2 separate regions of the Homo sapiens genome follow, and region 2 is linked to region 1. The links are contacts of gene promoters, found by promoter capture Hi-C in human tissues and cell types (Jung and others, 2019). All regions are on one chromosome and are shown on one strand. The core of a region is centred on a gene start or on the middle of the fragment in contact, and the rest is flanking DNA. Distances in the headings are between cores, read along the strand shown.

Region 1 (3,091 bases), core at 228-2,727:
TATCTAACTGTTCCAGACTGTTCCAACAGTCCAGGTTCTCACGACTCCAAAGACATGCTGGATTCACTATATCCAAACTTTGCCTTTAATTCTGGTACCAATTACTGCCCCCCAAATTTATAACCAGGATAATAAAAGTTACTTTACTATCTTATATATACTCAAAGTATTACACAAGCCACCATAACTTTTAAATAGGAAACTACTACGTAAAACTCCATGGTTGATGCTTGAGGCCCCCAGGAATTAGTTTGAAAGGTATTTAGAGCTGGAGTCCGGAAACCCTTGTACTACAATTTATTCAACTATTTTTCTATTGTTAGCCATTCCCATTTTTTTCCTTCTCTTTGCCTCTAAAAACGGTGTAGTAGATAATATGCAGTCTTAAGAACTAGTGTTGTTTTTCTATAGGATAATCACAAATTGGTGCCACTGCGTTAAAAGGCACTGGAATGGATGCATATTTTAAAATTGTAATAGATGTGGCCATATTACTTCACAACAAATTTTAGTAATTCACCTTCCTAGCAATCATACATAAGTGCTAGTGTCTAGCATCCTTGCCAATTATTTTTCTTTTTTGCCAACTGAATGGGGGGAAAAAGGCATTATTTTTTTAATTCCAGTTTTTCATTTAGTGAGTTTGAGCATCATGTTTCCTTATATGGGCTGCCTATTTATAGCTGTTGGCCAATTTTATTTGAATTATATTTCTTATTTATAGGAGCAGGCTGAGTAGAAGTATTAATGTATCTATGCTACAAAATCCATTTTTCTAAGCTCTTAACTTGAGGTGTCTTTTGCCATTCAAAAAGTTTAAATTCGTATACAAATATATTTTTTATTTATGATGTTGGGGTTTTGAAATCTTGGTTAAGAAAGTCCCTTCTGTCCCCGGATTATATAATATTCTCCTAAAATTTATTTAATCCTCTCAGTTGTATTCTTCCGTTGAAATCTTTTTTTACTGAAATTTATTTTCGCATATAGCACGAGGAGGGGGCCAAGATAATTCAGTATTTCGTTAATCAGGCATATAGATCTAGAGCGGGGAATGTCCGATACCATTCCAGGTTATACAGGCGAGATTAATGTCAGATCTTGGGAGCATTTCCAGTACAGGTTAAAACTGTCACGCGGTCGGCGGGATTGCAGGTGATGCAGCAAGCCTGGTGTCCTCGACAGGAGACGTTTCCCATCTAGGACCGTTGGATAGGGTTCCTTTCTGAGCTTCCAGCTCTGTAGTATCTATCAGCCCGCTGATAGGGCAGCCTCCCGACGCCACTCAAAACATCTTAAAGGCCCCAAGCCAAACCCCGCTACTAGTAGAACCAACAGTCTAAACGAAAGAGCCACGACGCTCTGCGCATGTGCGCTCTTCGCAAGCTGAAAATCTTGCGGGGAGCTCTTTAGCAAGTTCCGCCTTCCAGCCTGAAGCGCATGCGCAGCCTCGGTTCCGTTGCGTAGCGTGTCCCTCAGTGGGACACTGCAGGGTGCGGGGACAACTACGAAGATGGCGGTTGCGCGCTTGGCAGCTGTGGCGGCCTGGGTACCTTGTCGGAGCTGGGGCTGGGCAGCCGTCCCCTTCGGTCCCCACCGTGGCCTCAGCGTGCTGCTTGCACGGATACCTCAGCGGGCGCCACGGTGGCTCCCAGGTCAGTGTCCGAAAGGCGGGAGTAGGATGCGTTCTTTCGAACGCCTCGGGTTCCGTCAGTTACCGTGCCTGTGCAGTGCGTCTTTGGCGCCCGGTTCAAAAATGCTCCTCCCCCTTTCTCAACACCCCAGTTCTAGGCGCTTTGTAGACTTCTGGTGAAGGCTGTGAGGAGAGCTCTGCCGCGGCCCTGCGGCATTCTGGGCACCCCGGGCCCTCGCTGGCGTTTTACACTGTGCAGTTTAAAGAGCTCCTGCTCCTTACCTGCCTCCCCTGCATTAAAGGCCAACACTAGAAAAAATTAAAATGTGCATTTAATGCATTATTATTAGTTACTTCTAGGAATTTGTAGATTGTGACTCCTAAAATGCTTAGACTGACTCTCCTTTGAGTTTAGGGAACCTAACAATGCGAGGCATGTTCTTTGTAAAAGTGTAGACGCCCTCATAAGCCTAATTTCTAGTTCTGCTTTCTTGCTGCACCCACTCAGTGAAAGAACCATAATCATTATTGCACAAAGGAAACTAGAATTTGGGCTAAAAATCAGAGAACCTCTTATATGTATATATAGTCTTTGAATTAGATCCTTTTATTTTTTTGGCTTTGTGTGTGGTTCACACCATTGCCACGTAGCTGTCAGATGATGCATGGTGCTTGGAGTGGTAATTAATGTCACGGCAGAGATCTTTTGTATGGAGATTTTTGTATCCAGTTTTTAAACTTTTATAATCAGATTAACTTGCATTTAATTGTGCGCAACCAAAAGGCATGTTACACATGCAAATACTCCTAGTAAAATGTAGTATGTCAATTCATTAACCAGAGTATAATATTATTTCATCTAGTTAGCACTTATTCATTGAGCACTTATGCACCAGGCTTTGAATTAATCCTTATGTTCAAAGATGATTTATGAATATAATTATATGAATCTGTCTACTTAGAACTTACATTAAATAAATTATAATCATCTCGGGGAAATTATGTTTTAAGAGGTGATTTCTGGAAGAGGATAGTGAGAATTTTTTTTAGTGCTCAGCTGAGTAGATGGGAAATGAACATGAGTGGATCAGCATAACTGGTCCTTACCAAAAGTTTTAAATTTGGCATATTTCTCTATACTTTGAAACAAGCTTTTATGTAAAAAGGATAACTTTAAGGCCTTCAGTTACATCTTTAAAAAATCAACTTCTTAATTACAAAATGGGGAAAACTTTAGCAGCACACATGGATTCTCTTCTCAAGACTGAGAAGTTTTCAAAGTGGAGGACGGCTTCATTTAATATAAAAAAAGAAAATGTATTAGTCCAAAGACTCTAAGGAAGTACACAAAACTAGTGTCTTTGGAAAGAAGAGGTGGGATTATAAATGACTCTTTTAAAAAAATATCTACTTGTTTCTTAAGAGCAAGTATAGATTTTATAATGGGGGAAAATTTGA
Region 2 (3,091 bases), core at 235-2,734, 150 kb before region 1:
CTTTCCTTGCCAAAGCACTGAAGAATCTTGGCAGCTAAACAAAGAATTGAACCCTACATTTTCTATCAGGTAAGTAGAGTTCTGGCTAGATGAAAGCATGATAACAGTAAAACAAAGAGGAAATCCTTAATACCCAACAGTAATGCCGCAGTTTTGCTCCACGGCCAGGGTAGGAATGCAGGATCTTTGGCAATTCTGCCAGGGGAGGTGTAGTCATGTGGTGGTGGCGTGGGAGTGGGTGCAGGGAGTGGTTTGATCAGCTGAACCAGAGCCGTCTGAGAGAAGGTTCTATGGCTCTCTTCTTCTGGGAGCAGCCTGCCTCTAGGAGGCTGCTCATTATTTAGGATGAGTAGTAAGGGAGAAATTACTGCCTCTGCTGATGATGATGATGGAAATGACGTGATGATTTAGAAAAAGAAAATGATGATGGCCGACATTTATTGAGTTCTTGCTATGAACTGCAGTTAAACGCAAATGCTTTTTGTGCATTAGCTCATGTCACAATGTCCAAGAGAAAAAAGGAAAGGAAAAACAAACAAAAAACAGAGGTGCTACTAAGTCACTTCCTTATAATTTCTCACCTAGAACAACCTGCAAACTAGTCTCTTTAGGCTTGTCCTGTTCAAATTGATCCTCCAACCTATCAAACTGACTTATTTAAGACAGAAATGTGACCACATCCTTCCTCTAACCTTTTAACCAGCTGTCTGTTGCCTACCAGGCAAAATCCAGGGCCCTTAGTATGGCTTTTAAGGAGAGCCTTTCAGAACTGAGCTCCTACTGCCTCTGCAGCCTAAGCTCTTACCACACCCGACTACCTTCTGGCCAAATCCCACTCTGTTATGACTCGGTTAAGGAAAGACCAGGCCGGGCGCGGTAGCTCACGCCTGTAATCCCAGCACTTTGGGAGGCCCAGGTGGGCGGATCACGAGGTCAGGAGATAGATACCATCCTAGCTAACACGGTGAAACCCCATCTCTACTAAAAATACAAAAAATTAGCCGGGTGTTGTGGCAGGCGCCTGTAGTCCCAGCTACTCGGGAGGCTGAGGCGGAGAATGGCGTCAACCCGGGAGGCGGAGCTTGCAGTGAGCCGAGATTGGAGATTGTGCCATTGCACGCCGGCCTGAGCGACAGAGCGAGACGAGAATCCGTCTCAAAAAAAAAAAAAAAAAAAAAAAAAGGAAAGACCAAAAACTGAGCAACTCGGTTCAGACTGTTTCTTCCTGGGAAGCTTCATGCTCACCCACTTGTTCAACTGCATTATAAATATGCTACACTGTGAGCTTCTGTAGGTAGAGTCTCAGGGCTTACTAGAGTGCTTGGCACAGTCTAAGGGCTCAGTACATATTTCCAAATGAAAACAATGAAAAGATAGACATGGAAGTCTGGCAGAAGGAGATAAAAATGTCACCTTCATTACTATAAAGCTGACAAAGGAGGGTATAGCTTACGTGCAGTGCAACAGAGGACTTCCTAAAACTGCATTCCAAAATTAGGTAGACTAACAGCTATTCACAGTGCACCTCCCCATAGGGGCCTGCCTCTGTAAACCAGACCACAAAGGAGCTCAGCCACTGTAGCTCCTGAGGTCAGCTAGCTCTCAACTACACAGAACCAGTGTATTTCCCAAATGCTCCCATGGAAGAGTTTCCCCTTCTCTTCTGGGGCAGAGTGAACCAACTGGGAGAGAAAGGCCAAGAGAGTTATAGCAACTGAAGTCCAACTGCTTTGTAAACACAGAGGCAGCTGAAGTTGCCCTGCCCCAGCCCCAATATCCTCCTGTGCACTGATTGATTTAGATGCTGGTAATGCTTCCTACCAGTGACAGGGAACTTCCAGTCTATCTGTCAATGGATCATCTTTTGATTTCCCCTATCTAATTTCCCCTGCTCAGGTAATCTATGAACACATATTGAATGACATACTTAATAAACATTTTATGAATATTTTTAAATAGTTTTGGCTTTTAAAAGACTGTGGCCAGGCACAGTGGTTCACGCCTGTAATCCCAGCACTTTGGGAGGTTGAGGCTGGCGGATCGTTTGAGCCCAGGAGTTCGAGACCAGACTGACAACACAGGGAGACCCTGTCTCTACAAAAATTAGCCGGGTGTGGTGGTGTGCACTGGTAGTTCCAGTTGCTCAGGAGGTGAATGTGGAAGAATCATTTGAGCCTGGAGGCAGAGGATGCAGTGACTAGCCAAGATTGCGCCACAGCACTCCAGCCTGGGCGACAGAGTGAGATCTGTCTCAAAAACAAAATGAACAAACAAACAAACAAACAAAAAAGATTATACCTTCCACTTGACTCAGTCAATTTAATGAAACCTAGAAAACATCTATTGAGTCCCTGCCAAATGCCACACACTGTGTAGTATAAATATGAAGACATCACAGTGGTCCTCTGGTATTAGCCAACCAGCCAAACCTACTGGATCTTTTCTCTTAGAGGAAAGGGAATATAGACGCTTGTTAGATCAAAAGGAACACATATAAATGTTGACAATGTTTTTTCTAATTTCCAAATGTTTTTCTGAGTAGCTAAGTGACTGTTCACCCAGAGTTTTAGACATTTCCCTTCTCCTATTGACAGCATTAATTAGAGCCAACACACTAAAATTCTAAAAAGTCATGGAAACCTCTGAAGGGCCATTTATCTTCCCACATCTCTCCCACATTGCCCCATCTCGCAAAGGCATGCAATTACTAAAGAGAAGAACTGGGTGAAAGAGTTGGATGGATTGTTCAAATCCATCACTATGACTGAAAAACAACTCAAACTAGCCAATGGATTGTTTCTCCTCCCTAAAGGAAGGTATCATGCTCACTCAACTCTCCCATCCTGGATTCCTGGTTCTTCCATTATTCTTTTGTTTAAAAAAAAAAAAAAAGTCCTAACATCTGATATTTCTTTTTCTTTTTCTTTTTCTTTTTTTTTGGTTTTTTTTTTTTTTTGAGATTGAGTCTTGCTATTACCAGGCTGGAGTACAGTGGTATGATCTCAGCTCACTGCAACCTCTGCCTCCTGGGTTCAAGCGATTCTCCTTCCTCAGCCTTCTGAGTAGCTGGGATTACAGGCACATGCCACCA

Evidence for each region. The method cuts DNA at HindIII sites, captures the fragments that hold promoters and counts their contacts. A contact is called where the count stands out against the background at its distance.
Region 2: a contact is called between a fragment that was not itself captured here and the fragment with the promoter of ABHD10 in region 1, in 1 of the 25 tissues and cell types used here (heart right ventricle).

What each region holds. Positions count from the first base shown.
Region 1 is chr3:111,977,549-111,980,639 of GRCh38, forward strand. ABHD10 (abhydrolase domain containing 10, depalmitoylase) reads left to right here and starts at 1,478. Exons shown (of 5, transcript NM_018394.4): 1 at 1,478-1,655. The coding sequence starts at 1,514. RefSeq lists enhancers at 1,120-1,679, 1,538-1,587, 1,598-1,647, 1,668-1,717. The HindIII fragment of the contact is 5,717 bases long and covers 1-3,091 here.
Region 2 is chr3:111,826,529-111,829,619 of GRCh38, forward strand. The region is part of intron 2 of LOC105374040 (a long non-coding RNA gene); the gene reads right to left. It also overlaps a transcript of PHLDB2 not described here. Among named protein-coding and RNA genes, the nearest start is that of PHLDB2, 31 kb to the right of the region's middle. The HindIII fragment of the contact is 8,289 bases long and covers 1-3,091 here.